2 separate regions of the Homo sapiens genome follow, and region 2 is linked to region 1. The links are contacts of gene promoters, found by promoter capture Hi-C in blood cells and fetal thymus (Javierre and others, 2016). All regions are on one chromosome and are shown on one strand. Each heading gives the region's core, a stretch centred on a gene start or on the middle of the fragment in contact. The rest is flanking DNA. Distances are from core to core; before and after follow the strand shown.

Region 1 (7,666 bases), core at 1-2,500:
TTCACCTGGAGACGGAGGGGTTGGCTGAAGTTCAGAGGCGGCAACTCCTCAGTAGAACAGGGAGGGAGGACGCCGAGCAGCCTCTGAGCAGGGGCAGCCGGAGGGGCCGTGGGGACTCAAGGTCCCACTTTACCGACTCCCTTCCCCGGGTGGCCTGGGCTGGGACTGCACTCTGGGATCCTTCCCAGGTGGTGTCTGGGCCCCTCCCTCCGTGACCCCCAACACTCAAGTATGGTGGCCCCGATGCCAGAACTCACCCAACCGCTTTCCACGCAGGAAAACAAAGGCCTACTGAGTGCAAAGGGTGGTCCCTGGATTCCGAATGGAAGCAAGTTCCGGGTTCTTCTGGGGTCTTCGGGGACCAGGCCGGGAGGCAGGAGCCCCGCTGCTCACTTCCTCCAGGCCCGCTCAGCCGGCAGGAGCTTCCTCCTCTCTGCGGCAGGGCCCGAGGGGGGTGGATGCCGTGAAAGTGAAGCTGCCACAAACCTCCAGAAAGCTCTGCCCGGAGCCCCAGCGCCCGCCGTGCCGCCTGGGCCCCCGGGGTTCTGCAGGCCACTTAAACTCAATGCTTTCATTTCTCCCCCTCTCCCCGCCTTCCCCAAACCATGCCAGTTTCCCCGCAGGCTGTTCACCTCCAAAATGGCAGCTACATAGGCCAGAGCCTGGGGTCGACCCCCGCAACCCACCACCAGCACCCTGTCAGCCTGGCCTCCACCCTCCATCCCGCACCGCCGTCCTCCCACCTCCACACCCCGCCCCGGGCCAGGCCCCTTCCTCTCCCGGGACCACGCAGGAGACTCCTACCTGGACTCTCGGCTGCAGACTTCCCCACGCCCCCTGCCCGCCCCTGAGCTGAGGCTCCCACAAGCCCTCGGAGGAGTGAGTCACTTCCTGACCCCACTCACTCAAACCCACCAACGGCACCCAATAGCTCTTAAAATAAAATCCAGGCTGTGCGTGGTCTGTCTCTCTCAATCGCGGTTACATACCCGTGTCTAGAACAATGCTTGGCACAAAGTGGGCTCAGTGAATAAATATTGGTGGTGGTTGTTGCCAAGGGGATCGGGAAGGCTTTCCAGAGGAGAATGGGGCCTTGACGGCTGCATAGGAGTTTGCAGTGGAAGAAGAAGGGGTGAGAACGTGGCAGGTGGAGAAAACAGCGTATGCAAAGGCATAGCAGGGTTCGAGAAGGAGAGATCTCAGCACAGTAGATAGAGAAACACTTCAGACCCGAGCTGGTCTCTCAAGCTGGAATCTTCACCATCCGGGCTGAAATGGTGAGTTTCCCTAGCAACAGGTGACTGGGAAGCTATCTACCCTTTCTGACAGGTTAGGCAGAAAGTGGCTAAATCAGGTGGGATGCAGGTGTAAGGAGTGTGTGAGAGCAGGAAAGTAGGGTCGTTTACAAGAAGTTAATAAAAAATGACAAAACTTAGTACTGGTATTGTTGCTAATATTTATGGAGTCATTGGTGATGAAACAAACATAATTTTAAGGGCTTTCATTTTACTGGAAACTTCCTTGTGAGGTAGGTACAATCATCACCCCCATATTACAGAGGAAGACACTGAGGCACATGAGTCAGTCCCTGCCATTCTGAAGTGCCCGTGCTAGACTGGGGCTTGTAACAGGTGGGGAGAGAAGCCACCGTGCAGGACCTATTTTGCTGGGGCGTGTGTAGCAGGCTCAGCCCAGCTCTGGACACAGTGGTTCTGGTGGTGGCTTCTGACTCTGGATCACAGCCACATAGATGTAGCAGCAGTCACAGTCCCAGCAGCAAAGAGACGGTATATTCCCATGTGCTAACTGAAGACTGTTTAATAAAGGGACAGCTGGGGCAGGGTTAAAGGAACCCAGAAGAGACAGTGCTACACCCCAGGCTAGCAACATGGGGAGCTGTTACTTCTTCAAAACCTAGAGGGTGAAGGAGGGAGTGGGTGGCAGAGCCCAGGAACAGAATCACTGAAGCTCTAAGAGGGGCCTCGGGATAGGAGCTGTGGCCTTTGGTAGAGGGACACAGCCAGCTCATGGTGAACCAGCAGAAGGGCACAGCTGGAGGAATCAATGACCAAGCCTCACTCTCCTCCCTCCTGCCAGGGCCTCCCCTGCCCACATCCAGCCAGAAGCCAGAGAAAAGAAGTCCCCTGCTGCGGCCCATAGATGTGAGGAGAGAAAATGGTGGGGAGTGGATCTGCAGAGGTGAACCTAAAGCATTCAACCCAGAAAGCATGCTTCTAGGGCCAGCCTGACTCGGCAGCTTCCTTCAGGAGCCAGCTCTGCAGTATTCTTCCAAGAGTCCTTGCTGGAGGCGCTGCCTCCAGCCTTCCAACAGCTTGAGAATCACACAGCTTCCTATGTTAGATTCCTTTCTCCTCCAAACAACTGAAGAGACTCTAATCATCGGCAACTGAATCCCAATTAACTTCGGATTTGTTACCAGAAACAATTGCAGGCAACACGACCTCCAGGATGGGAACTGGGATTGGTTACTTGTTCTGGTTGATTTAAAGGCAGTGGGGACCTAGTAACTGTTAGAGAATGGAGTTCTAATAGATCGTAGCCTGTGATGGCAAAATAATTACCTGTCATCACTCAGAACGAAGTACCTATTAAATTGTGGCTTTGGCAGAGTTGTGGCTTCCATACGCAATACGAGCACAGGTTATCTAAGGACTGTGGGGTGAGCTTGTTATCATCACACCAAAGAGTTTAAAGCAAGAAAAGGACAGTCCCAGGGCTTTACATTCTCAGCTCAAGGTATGTGCAGAATACAGGGAGTTCTCTGATAGCCCTCAAAGCTATCTCTCATCTCTTGGGGCTGCAGGGCTGATGTAAGAATCAGATGCGAAATCTAATCCTGTATGGTGTGGAGTTACAACAGACTAAATCCACAACTCACAAAGCCTCTTGTGTGTAGAGCATTGTTTAGGGGAAGAGAGGGACTCTAAGAATTGGAAGAGTAACATGGAGATAAGTCCAAGCACCCCCAAACCCCAATTAAGAGAAAGGCATGGATAGAAGGGAATTATTCCAGCCTTTTTTTTTTTCAGAGACACGGTGTGAAATATACCTGTGCAAATATGCCAAACACTACTGAACTGTATACTTAAAAATAGTTAAGACAGTACATTTTATGTTACGTGTATTTTTAACCACAACTAAAATTTTTAAAAATTAATAAAAAATAAATAAATTGCAGGGATCACATCACTTTAGGGATATCTCTAAATACTTCAGAATGTTTCTCCTAAAAACATTCTCCTGCATAACACAGTACCATTATGATACCTAAGAAAATTAGCATTGATAGAAGGTTTTCTAATATCTCATCCACATTCAAACTTCACCAAGGCTTCAAAAAATGTCTATTACAGCTGTATTTTTTTTAATCCAAGATCCATTCAGGCATCACACAGCACATGTGATTGCATTTGGTTTTCATGTCTCTTTAGAGCCCTGTAATCTAGAACAATCTTTCACGACACTAACATTTTTTAAACATCCAGGTCAGTTGTCCTGTAGAATCTATCACTTCTGTCATTTCCTGGTCTGCTTCTGTGGACTGATTTTTCTCCCGATTGTGGGTCACAGTTTCCTGCTTCTTTATAATAATGTTTTATTGAATGCTAGACATTAAATTTTTATGTCGTCGCGTGCTGAATTTTGTTGCATTTCTTTAAGAAGTGTTGGAATTTTTCTGGCAGAAATATTCTTTTGATGTCTGTTTTTAATAAGCGTAATCTCTGCAAGCTCTGATCTTTGTCTCCTTAAATCAGTGAGACCTGGCTCTGTCTGGGTCCCCCTCACTACAGCACAGTCCAGGAATTATGTCCAGGCAGAAAGCCAAGACCAGGGTAGGGCTCACCTCACTTGCCACCCTTTTCTTGGGGATCACAGATCTGACTCGCCTCTTAACATTTTACTTTTATATAGTTTCAAACTCACAGAAAAGCTGCAGGAAAGTACAAAGAGTTCCTATGTGTATTAGTCCATTTCCATGCTGCTAAAACAGACATACCCAAGACTGGGTAATTTATAAAGAAAGACAGTTTAATGGACTCACAGTTCCACCATGGCTGGGAAGGCCTCACAGTCATGGTGGAAGGTGAAGGGGGAGCAAAGGCATGTCCAATGTCTGAAGTAACTGTTTCCTGTGTTTTGTGGAGGCTTCTAGTTATTCCTGATGGAAAGGTAACTCCAAAAGTGAAAATTCTTTCCTCATAAATATTGATCGATTACAAAGAAGAGTTACATTTTTTAGTGTACAAATTTGATAAACACTATATTAACTAAGTAATATATATTTTTTAAAAATAGAAACAGTGCACTCTGTCAGACTGGAGTGCAGTGGTGTGATCACGGCTCACTGCGGCTTTGAACTCCTGGGCTTAAGTGATCCTCCTGGGTAACTGGGACCACAGACGTGTGCTCACATGCTAAGTAATCAAAATTAACATCATAAGAAAGTAAAACAATCAACATGACATGTCTCCTGGTAATGATGCGCTGAGAGGAACACATCACTTCTACCGAAAACGCATAACCTGGATCTAATAACGAGGAAAATACTAGATCAATCCAAGCTGCAAGACATTCTGGAACATAACTGGCTTGGATTCTCCAAAGAATCAAGGCTATGAAACATAAGGAAAGACTGAAGGGCCACTCCAGACTACAGGAGGCTGGAGAGATGGGACAACTCATTCAATGCCTTGTCCTGCCTCTTATTTTGGCATAAAGGACATCATTGAGACAATTGGAAAAAAACACAATTAAGGTTTGTAGATTAGACAATGCCATTGTATCAATGTTATTTCCTGATTATGACACATACTGAGATTATGGAAGAGAATGTCTTCACTTTTAGGAAGCTACACTGATGTATTTAGAGGTGAAGAGGATATAATGCATGCAACTTACCCTCAAAGATTCAGAAAATATATATATCACCAGGTAAATGTGTGCGTCTAAAGAAATATATATCATTATTATTATATCGAGAGAGGCAGATAGGCAGGGACAGAAAGAGAGTGAAGAGGATAAAGTAAAAATGTTAACATTCATGAGTCTCCAGGTAAACATAGTGATATGGTTTGGCTATGTCCCCACCCAAATCTCATCTTGAATTGTAGCTCCCATAATCCCCACGTGTCATGAGAGGGACCTGGTGGGAGGTAACTGAATCATGGGGACGGGTTTTTCCATGCTGTTCTCATGATGGTGAATAAGTCTCATGAGACTGGTTGGTTTTATAAAGGACAGTTCACCTAAACACACTCTTTTGCCTGCCGCCATGTAAGATATGCCTTTGCTCCTCCTTCGCCTTCCACCATCATTGTGAGGCCTCTCCAGCCATGTGGAACGGTGAGTCCACTAAACCTTTTTCCTTTTAAAATTACCCAGTCTTGGGTATGTCTCTTTTAGCAGCATGAGAATGGATTAATACACATAGGAACTCTTTGTAGTATTCCTGCAACTTTTCTGCGGGTTTGAAACTATATAAAAGTAAAATGTTAAAAGAAAAAAAAAAGCCTTTGCTCTCATCCTAGTTTAATATCACTCTAAGTGCACGAATTAAAAAAAAAAAATCCAATGTGTTATACTCCACATTGCTCCTTCAGATGCTTGAAGTATCCAAAATGTGGACGCTGTTTGTGCCTCTGTCCTTTTGACATGTCCCCATCATTCCTTGAGTACAGTTGGCCCTCCATATCCTTGGTTGCACATTCATGGATTTAACCAACCACGAATTAAAAATATCAAGAAAAAATTGCATCTGTACCAGACACATACAGAATTTTTCTCCGTCATTATTCCCTAAGTGATACAGTGTAACAACTATTTACATAGCATTTACATTGTATTAGGTATCATAAGTAATTTAGAGCTGGTTTAAAGTATGCAGGAGGATGTGCGTAGGTTATATGCAAATACTGTGCAGTTTGATATCAGGGACTTGAGCATCTTCAGATTTTGGTATCCTCCAGGGTCCCGGATTCACTCCACAGAGGATACCAGGGACAACTGTGCTTCCCTGCTTTCCGGCACAGTGTTTCAGGCTCACCTTGGCAATACATTTTAAGAATGAGATTGTGGGAGGAAATCTAGCACTACATTCCAAAGCCATCGAGAACATCAGAACCCTGTGTGGATGTTTCGAAAACACACCAAACATCCACAAAGGTGTTGCATACTTTAAGGTGACAGTCTTTCCTAAAAGCTGTCCGGTGTGACCATGTCCCGGCTGTTAGGACCAGCCACATGGCCACCTAAATCCGAGGGGCTGGGGACTGGAAGAATATGTGGCCTTTGCCCCATTTCCCTGGTGTCAGAGACCTCCTTACCCGCCTCTATGCCCAGATGCAGCCCTCTGCTCCATCTTCGTCCCAGACCTGCCCCCAGCTGCATTTCTTCATCGGCCTCACTGTGTTGTCCACCTGCCACTCCACTCTCTCCTGGTTCCTGTGCCCTAGCACACCCCCACCCCCCCACACCCAACGCCTCAGCGGCACACAGCAGGCTCCCACTACTCACTGACCCAATGAATGCTCCAGGTCCTACTGTGTTGGACACAGGGATTCCCCACCCCCTGCCCCAGGGCAAAGCCTCACCCTGGTGAAGATGATGATGGTGTATTAAATCAAATTTAAACCCCAAAGAGTGGGTTTCCACGGAAAACCTCACTAATTCTGAGCTGCCCAACCCCAGGGCACTGTCCTTGCGGAAGGAACAGAGATGCCCGTCCCTGCGGTGGCCGGGGATTCCTGCCTGGGTAAGGATGAACAGAGGTGACCTCAGAAGGTCCCTTCCTTCTCGAGATTCTCAGATTCTGCCAGTTCTGTCACATCTGAGGGCAAGTGGCCGTGCAATGTCAGTTCCCCCAGAGACTGGCCACCAGGAAAGGAGGGGCCCTGTCCTAAGCAGAGAGCCCCCTCCCCACCACGGCCCCCTGGGGAGGTGACGGCTGAATTGGGGGGCCTTTCTGGGGACATGCAGCTCACACCAGTGCATTGGCCTGAAAGAATGGGACAGAAGCAATGTTTTTTGTTTTTGAGACCGAGTTTCCCTCTTGTTGCCTAGGCTGGAATACAATGGTGCAGTCTCAGCTTACTGAAACCTCCGCCTCCTGGGTTCAAGTGATTCTCTTGCCTCAGCCTCCCTAGTAGCTGGGATTACAGGTGCCTGGCACCACGCCCAGCTAATTTTTTTATATTTAGTAGAGATAGGGTTTCACCATGTTAGCCAGGCTGGTCTTGAACTCCTGACCTCAGGTGATCCACCTGCCTCAGTCTCCCAAAGTGCTGGGATGACAGGCATAAGCCACTGTGCCCGGACGGCAGTTATATTTGAGAACAAGTGAGAAAGGTCGGAGAATCAGGTCAGGCTAAGAGCATCTTCAGAACCATCCTATATCACCTACACTTTTCTTTTTTGTTTTTGAGGCAGAGTCTCACTCTGTTACCCAGGCTGGAGTGCAGTGGGGTGATCTCGGCTCAATGCAACCTCCGCCTCCCAGGTTCAAGTGATTCTCATGCCTTAGACTCCCGAGTAGCTGGGATTACAGGTGTGCGCCACCATGCCCAGCTAATTTTTATTTTTTGTGGGTTTTTTTTTTTGTTTGTTTGTTTTTAGCGGAGACAGGGTTTTGTCATGTTGGCCAGGCTGG
Region 2 (7,666 bases), core at 3,009-5,508, 230 kb after region 1:
GGTAAAATGCGCTAAAATATATATTTGGGCTAGGCACAGTAGCTCATGTCTGTACCTAGCACTGGCACTTTGAGAGGCCAAGGCAGGAGGATCACTTGAGCCCAGGAGTTTGAGACCAGCCTGGGCAACATAGTGAGACCCTGTTTCTATTAAAAAGTGTGTGTGTGTGTGTGTGTGTGTGTGTGTGTGTGTAATATAAAAAAATAAAATAAATATTTGGATGTAGCCTTTAACCTTTAAGCAGATCGGTCTACCAGTCAGTCAATAAGTGTGTATTGAGCACCATGTGCAAGGCAGCGGGTATGGGACATGAAATGAATGAGTTATGAACAGCATCTTTAAAGTGAGATAGACTAGAATCCAAGAGAAAATATAACAACAGGCTGGGCACAGTGGCTCACACCTGTAATCCCAACACTTCAGGAGGCTGAGGCAGGCAGATCACCTGAGATCAGGAGTTCAGGACCAGCCTGGACAACATGGTGAAACCCCATCTCAGGTAAAAATACAAAAGTTAGCTGGGTGTGGTGGCACCTGTCTGTAATCCCAGCCACTCAGGGGGCTGAGGTAGGAGAATCGCTTGAACCCAGGAGGCAGAAGTTGCAGTGAGCCAAGATCACGCCACTGCACTCCAGCCTGGGAGACAGAGCAAGACTCCATCTCAAAAAAAAAAAAAAAAAAGAAAACTGAAAATATAACAATACATAACACATATTAAGTATTATTGCACAAAATTTTGTTTGACATAAGCATGAGTACTAGGTGGTAAATGGCAAATGTTTTCTTACTGTTTGAGTCTTGATCAAAAAGTCTGAAAGACACTGGCTAGTGGGATGAAAAAGTCAAATAAAAGAACTGAAAACGTTTTTTTCTCAAAACACTCATCAAAGCAGCAGCAATTTTAATGTAAAAAGAGCTCCACAGGCTAGGCGCAATGGCTCATGCCTGTAATCCCCGCACTTTGGGAGGCTGAGGCGGGTGGATCACAAGGTCAGGAGATTGAGACCATCCTGGCCAACATGGCAAAACCCTGTCTCTACTAAAAATACAAAAATTAGCCAGGTGTGATGGCACACGCCTGTAGTCCCAGCTACTCGGGAGGCTGAGGCAGGAGAATCACTTGAACCCGGGAGGCAGAGGTTGCAGTGAGCCGAGATGGCGCCACTGCACTCCAGCCTGGGTGACAGAGAAAGACTCCGCCTCAAAAAAAAAAAAAAAAAAAAGAGCTCCATAAAGGCAGATACTTTTTTCCCTGTATCCCTGGCACCTATCACAGTGCTAGGCACATAGCAGACCATCAATAAATATGAGCTGAATAAATAATGAGTGATTACTTTGTTCAAGATGCCACAGGGGATGCAAGCCAAGAAGATGCAGTTCCTACCATTACATCTAGAAATTTAGGATCAAAGGATAAGACGAAAATGCAAACAGACCCAAAACAAGCCAAAATGTAAATGGCACCAAAGGAAATGGCACGGAAAGGCGAAGCCCATCCAAATGCAGGGGATAAAGAACTTTCAGAACGGAGTTCTAAAAGATGGGAATATTTTGATGCTAAAGATGGATGATGGGAGGGGGAATGAAGTGCAATAGTGCGGTCCAAATAAAGCCATCCTCACAGGGCTAACAAGAATTCTGGACAAAGGCCAGGCGTGGTGACTCATGCCTGTAATCTCAGCACTTTGGAAGGCCGAGGCAGGCGGATCACAAGGTCAGGAGATCGAGACCATCCTAGCTAACAGTGAAACCCCGTCTCTACTAATACAAAAAATTAGCCGAACATGGTGGCAGGCGCCTGTGGTCCCAGCTATTCAGGAGGCTGAAGCAGGAGAATGGTGTGAATCTGGGAGGTGGAGCTTGCAGTGAGCCAAGACCGTGCCACTGCACTCCAGCCTGGGCACAGAGCAAGACTCTGTCTCAACAACAACAAAAAAAATTATTCTGGACATCTGGACAGAAATGTAGTTATAATTGGCTGGGCGCAGTGGCTCACACCTGTAATCTCAGCACTTTGGGAGGCCGAGGCGGGATGATCACTTGAGGTCAGGAGTTCAAGACCAGCCTGGCCAACATGATGAAACCCCCGTCTCTACTAAAAATACAAAAATTGGCTGGGTGTGGTGGCGTGCGCCTATAATCCCAGCTACATGGGAGGCTGAGGCAGGAGAATCGCTTGAACCTGGGAGGCGGAGGTTGCAGTGAGTGGAGATTGCACCATTGCACTCCAGCCTGGGCAACACAGTGAGACTCCATCTCAAAAGAAATGTAGTTACAATTAACCATTAATCAAGTTGCCTTTTTTTTTTCAAGAGCACAAATCCACATTGATTTATTGACTTTTCATTAGTTTAAATCCTTGAGGGGTACAGCATTACTCGGATTCTGTGTCCAACAGCCTTAGCAGGAAGATTGCTTCAGAATTTGGCACGAATCATGCCATTGTTTCTGTGGGCCCGAGTTACCTTTCCCCAGATTACTCTGGCTTTGTTTGATTTGCCGCCAGGAGTCACTATGTTGTTCTTTGCTTTGTATACATGAGCCCAAATAGAATTCTGTTTCATCTCGGGCATAAACACCTTCAATTTTAAGAAGAGCTGTGTGCTCCCTTTGGTTCCGGAGACTCCACTTATAGCCAGCAAAAATGGCCTTGGACCACAGCCTTCCAGACATATTTCCTTTCAGAAGTCCTGCTCCCGGCAGGCCGCCACAGGAGCCAAGATGGCAGGAAGAGCTCAGGTTGCACTCTGACCTACTTGCTAGTAACCAAAAGTCACAGATACTATTTGCATCCCCATTGATTTTACAGATAGGATTTCTAAAATTAGAATCATAAGGCTTTTGCTTAAGAGTTGCTTTAGATGTTTTTCAGATCTCGAATTCCAGCAAAACTGATGCTGCCAACCAGTTTGAAGACTCCTCCCCGCAACAGAGGAACGGAATCAGCATGAGAAGTTTCCTCATCTCCCTGTCCCATAACTTCACCCTTCACTCTTCCACCAATCAAGGATCTCCACACTTCAGCAAAAACATGAGGTCCAAACTCCTGAAGGAGATGGATTTGAGGTTTCCTCTCTTTTCCCATCTCCTCGTTCAGCGGCCCTGCAACTGAAACTCTTTCTCTGCTGCAACCCACTGTCTGAGTGTATTGACTTATCGAGCACACTGAGCAACAGACCTATTACAGTTACACAAAGAGATGTCAGAAGAGAAACGGTGTTTGATCTGAATGAAAGACATATAAAGGGAAGTTAAGTCCAATTATCGATGTCAGGCTGCGACTTCTGTGCTAAATTTTTTTGGAAGTTAATGGGGAACTACTGAAAACGTCTATGCAGGTCAAGTGAAGCAATCAAAGTTGCAGTAGAAAAGTAGTGTTGGGGCTGAGACTCAGGAAATCTGAGGTTTTAGGCCATTTGGAACCAGTAACTATGTGACCTTGGAGAAGTAACTCATTATCTGGCCCTTATTTAAGATTAGGATAAACGAGAGGAGTTTGGCAACCAGTACAGTTAGTCAGGCGCCAGGCACCCAAGTATTCACATGCATTGTCTTTTAATTCTCTTTTAAGCCAGGCGAGGTAGGTACTATTACTACCTCCACTTTAAAACAGGAAGTAAGGCAGAGAGCGGTTCCGTCTTTTGCACGGTAGACAGGAGAAAAGAGGACCCCTAGATAGGTTTGAGTTAGAAGACTTCAAAGGATTCTTGTTGCTCTAGGAGCCTACAATGGCTCCAGCAGCGGCTGAGCGGGGAAAGGCTGGAAGTGACCAGTAAAGAGAGAAAACTTAAAATCATGCAAAGAAAGAGCACATTCACTGCGGTCTAAGACATCACAGAAAGTTGGCAAGTCCTTTGGGCCACGGACTCGCCGAGTGACCTTTAGCCAAGTCTCGTCCCTCCTATCAGGTTCCTGCTCGAAGGTCTGCAAGACTCGCTGGCCCGAGGCGACCTCTTTTCGGCCTCCTCCACCCAGCCCGGCACCCTTGGCACCCTCTCTCCCGGTGAACCCTGGGCGCAGCCACGAGAGCGTCTCCCCGCGGCGCCCGTCTGCCCTGCTGGCCCAGAGGCCTCGCAGCCCGCGGGTCGCTGGGCCTCTTACCCGGGCGTGCACAGTCCCCATGGTTCCCTCTCCAGCCGCTGCCTCGCAGAGCTGCCCGGGCGGGACAGAGCGTCTGCTGCTGAGGGCAGAAGGCGGGTCCGCGGTGGCGGAGCTGCAGGTCAAGGCAACTCCCACAAACCCCCGGACGCGGAACACTGGGGGCGGCCATGATTCCCCGCCTTCTCCGCGCCCCCTGGCTCGCGATGCCTTCGCTCATTGGTCCTTATGCGCCTGTGACCCGGATGTTCACACGGCCGCGGAGGACGTTCTGACTGCGCAAGCGAAGAGCGTTCACTGACATCCGCGAAGCTGCTGGCGCGTGGACTGTGTGGGGAGGGCGCGTGGGGTGAAGGTGGGTCTGCGAGAGGGTCCGCTGGGAGGCTGGCGTCTGGCGTTGGCGCCTGAAAGAGATCAGACCAGCTGTTGGGTGTCACTCAAGTCCTGCTGCTCTTAGCCCTCCTAGCACCCCCGACCCGAGGGTGCTGTGCTTGTGCCCACGCGCCGGTGAAGCCCCGAGACTCAGCGGGGAGACCCCGGGTCCGGCCACCCCCGAGCTGCAGTAGTCGGGTCTCACCGGCATCTGCTACACAAACCCGGATTGGTGCCCTGGCTCCTTTCGTTCAAGTCATTGGAACCCCCACTCAAAATCGTCAAAATGAAGACGATGGTCGTGTCTCCTTCTTGGGGGTTGGATTAAAAGGGCCTAATGTGAGAGACGGAAAGCAAAGCTCCCGGCACCGGGCCGGGCACACGGTGGGCGCTAGATAATGACCGCTATTCACTCAACTGCAGCCAGTAATTATGGGCGAGGGCCATCTAGGTGCTTGCATGAGAACCAGTCATATCGGTGAAGAAGACGGCCATGGGCTTAGGTTTTGGTGGCAAAACAGCTCCCCTGCCCCAAAAAAGAAAAGAGAATAGAAAAGAAAAAGGCATAATAAATATCAGCCACACATTGTGATAAGTATATTGAAAGAAACGAGACAGAATAAGAAAAGAGGAAGCTTCAGTATCCTGTCACGTTGCCACTCCCTTCTGATAACAGAAGCATCTTTTCTTCTGTCCCCTTACTCCCTCCCAGAAACCCTGACACCCTTTCCATTTAAATAGCAGCACCCTAGGCCTCCAACATCCCTGAGCTAAATATTCAAGTCCACATGTCCCTTCTTGCCTGGAAAGAGACAGAACCCAGCACCAGCCAGGCCCCTGCCCTTCCCTCACTCTCAGTTCCCTGAGCCTCAATTCCTTATCTGTAAAATGGAAATGATAGCCTAAGGCATAAGGTCTGAGGACCTCATGAGATCAAGCATGGGGCCTGGCACTCTGTAAACATCGAATCAACCAGATTTTCTTTGCCCAAACAGCCCTCTTTTCTTACACTTTCTTCCTCGTTATTCTTCTGAGTATGCCACTTGTAAAGGATAAGCCATGAGGTTGCCCTGCAGAGTGCAAGATGGTTGCAATATTTGAGAGCCTATTGTGTGTGAGGCCCTGGAGGATGGCAGAGGGAACAGGAGGAAAACAAAGTCACATGCTTTACCCTCAAACAAAGGGCTGTCTGCGATAGTTACAATGTATATATTAAAGGCTATCTGTGATAGTTACAATGTATATAATATATTAAAGGCTGTCTGTGGTAGTTAACAATGTGTATATTAAAGGCTGTGATAGTTACAATGGGTATACTATATTAAAGGCGGTGGTAGTTACAATGTATATAATATATTAAAGGCTGTGATAGTTACAATGTACATAATATATTAAAGGCTGTGATAGTTATAATGTATATATTAAAGGCTGTCTGTGATGGTTATAATGTATATAATATATTGAAGGCTGTCTGTGATGGTTATAATGTATATAATATACTGAAGGCTGTCTGTGATAGTTAAGATGTATATATTAAAGGCTGTCTGTGATGGTTACAATGTATATAATAAAGACTGAGAAGTCTCACAGTGCATATACTGGTTTCCTTCTCTTTAACCCAGTATTTCTTGAATTTATTGGGTCATAGAGATTTTTGGTTTTGGAGATTTTTCTGTGGCCTCTGGCAATGCTATTCAACAGTATTTCTTGTGCTCCTCTTTTGGGCACAAGAGAGGATTGCATCTCCCTGCTCCCATCCATGTGACTTGCTTTGGTCAACACATTGTGAGCAGAAGAGAGATGTGCCACTCTGGATGAGAACCTTTAAGAACCATATTTCTCTAACCATGCCATGGCAATCAGCGATCCCCCAATGGTGGGGCACCTACAGGCTAGGTCTGGGAGTGAGGACGACTTAAAATGAAGCCCAGCCACATTTGCTGGACATACAGCACGAATGAGAAATAAACCTTTTGGGTTTTGCTTGTTAATGCAGCATAACTCAGCCTATCCTATATGATAATACCAGCTAGAAACATCTTCAAGGAAACCAGCATCCCAGAAAACCTGGTTTACAAAGTGCCAATCTTGTCCAATCAGAAGTAGAAGTGCAGTTTAGTGACTAAGCTAGTTTCCTTAATACAATCCAGGCTGAGTGCAATGGCTCATACCTATAATCTCAGCACTTTGGGAGGCCGAGGCAGGAGGATTGCTTGAGCCCAGGAGTTCAAGATCAGCCTAGGAAACACACCCCATCACTACAAAATAAAAATAAAAAATAAAAAAAATAGCTGGGCATAGTAGCAAGCACCTGTAGTCCCAGCTACTCCAGAGGCTGAAGCAAGAGGATTGCTTGAGTCCAGGAGTTCAAGATCAGCCTGGAAAACAGTGAGACCCCATCTCTACCAAAAAAAAAAAAAAATGTTTTTAATTAGCTTTTAATTTATTTAATTAAAACCTCCTCAGGAAGCTGAAGGAGGAGGATTGCTTGAGCCCAGGAGGTCAAGGCTGCAGTGAGCTGTGATTGTGCCACTGCACTCCAGCCTGAGCAACAAAGCAAGACCTTGCCTCAAAAAAGTAAAGAAAAACACCCCAAATTTAATTGGCCATGGGGAGGGGAGACTGGATCTTCCCACGGGAGTCATCCACCTATTAGTTTGGGACACCCCTTGGGGTGCCCTTTTTCATCACCTTCCCAGGGGCTGAGCGCCCTGAGGTGAGGGGCTCACCTCATTGCCTCTATCAGCCAGCACCTGACCTCTGAGGAGTGAAGGTGAATCAGTGAGAGGAGCCTGGAAGGGCATTCCCTGGGTGGAGGTCCCCTCGGGAAGCAGGGTGACTCAGGGAAGAGGCTCTGAGCTGCTGGTGGGACTGCAGGAGCTGGAGAGGGTGTGCTAGGAGGGAGTCTGGAGGCAGAGGAAGGCGCTGGGGTTGTGGCGGGGCCTCAGCTTGCCCAGCAGCAACGTGGGTCCCCTCGGGAAGCAGGGTGACTCCGGGGAAAGGCTCTGAGCTGCTGACAGGGCTTCAGGGGCTGGAGGGGGTGTACTGGCAGGGAAGGCCTGGAGGCACAGGAAGGTGCTGGGGGTGTGGTGGGGCCTCAGCTTGCCCAGCAGCAACGTGGAGGGCAGATGGGCCCAAGGCTGAAAACAGGCGGCCCCCAGAGGGAAGCTGTTGCAGCAACCCAGGTAGAAAGTAC

Evidence for each region. Contacts are between HindIII fragments. The CHiCAGO score rates a contact against its expected background, and 5 or more counts as called.
Region 2: a contact is called between the fragment with the promoter of SAMM50 here and the fragment with the promoter of PARVG in region 1, in 4 of 17 cell types (total B cells, monocytes, naive B cells and 1 more). The highest score is 9.3, in total B cells.

The regions. Positions count from the first base shown.
Region 1 is chr22:44,174,509-44,182,174 of GRCh38, reverse strand. PARVG (parvin gamma) reads right to left here and starts at 1,250. Exons shown (of 14, transcript NM_022141.7): 1 at 990-1,250; 2 at 258-433. RefSeq lists enhancers at 1-532, 533-1,263, 6,673-7,405 and silencers at 640-769, 1,940-1,989. The HindIII fragment of the contact is 15,489 bases long and covers 1-7,666 here.
Region 2 is chr22:43,952,034-43,959,699 of GRCh38, reverse strand. SAMM50 (SAMM50 sorting and assembly machinery component) reads right to left here and starts at 4,258. Exons shown (of 15, transcript NM_015380.5): 1 at 4,102-4,258. The coding sequence starts at 4,122. It also overlaps the pseudogene RPL35AP36. RefSeq lists enhancers at 3,514-3,723, 3,529-4,280, 4,404-4,483, 4,564-4,613, 4,281-5,033 and a silencer at 4,166-4,440. The HindIII fragment of the contact is 6,277 bases long and covers 1-5,107 here.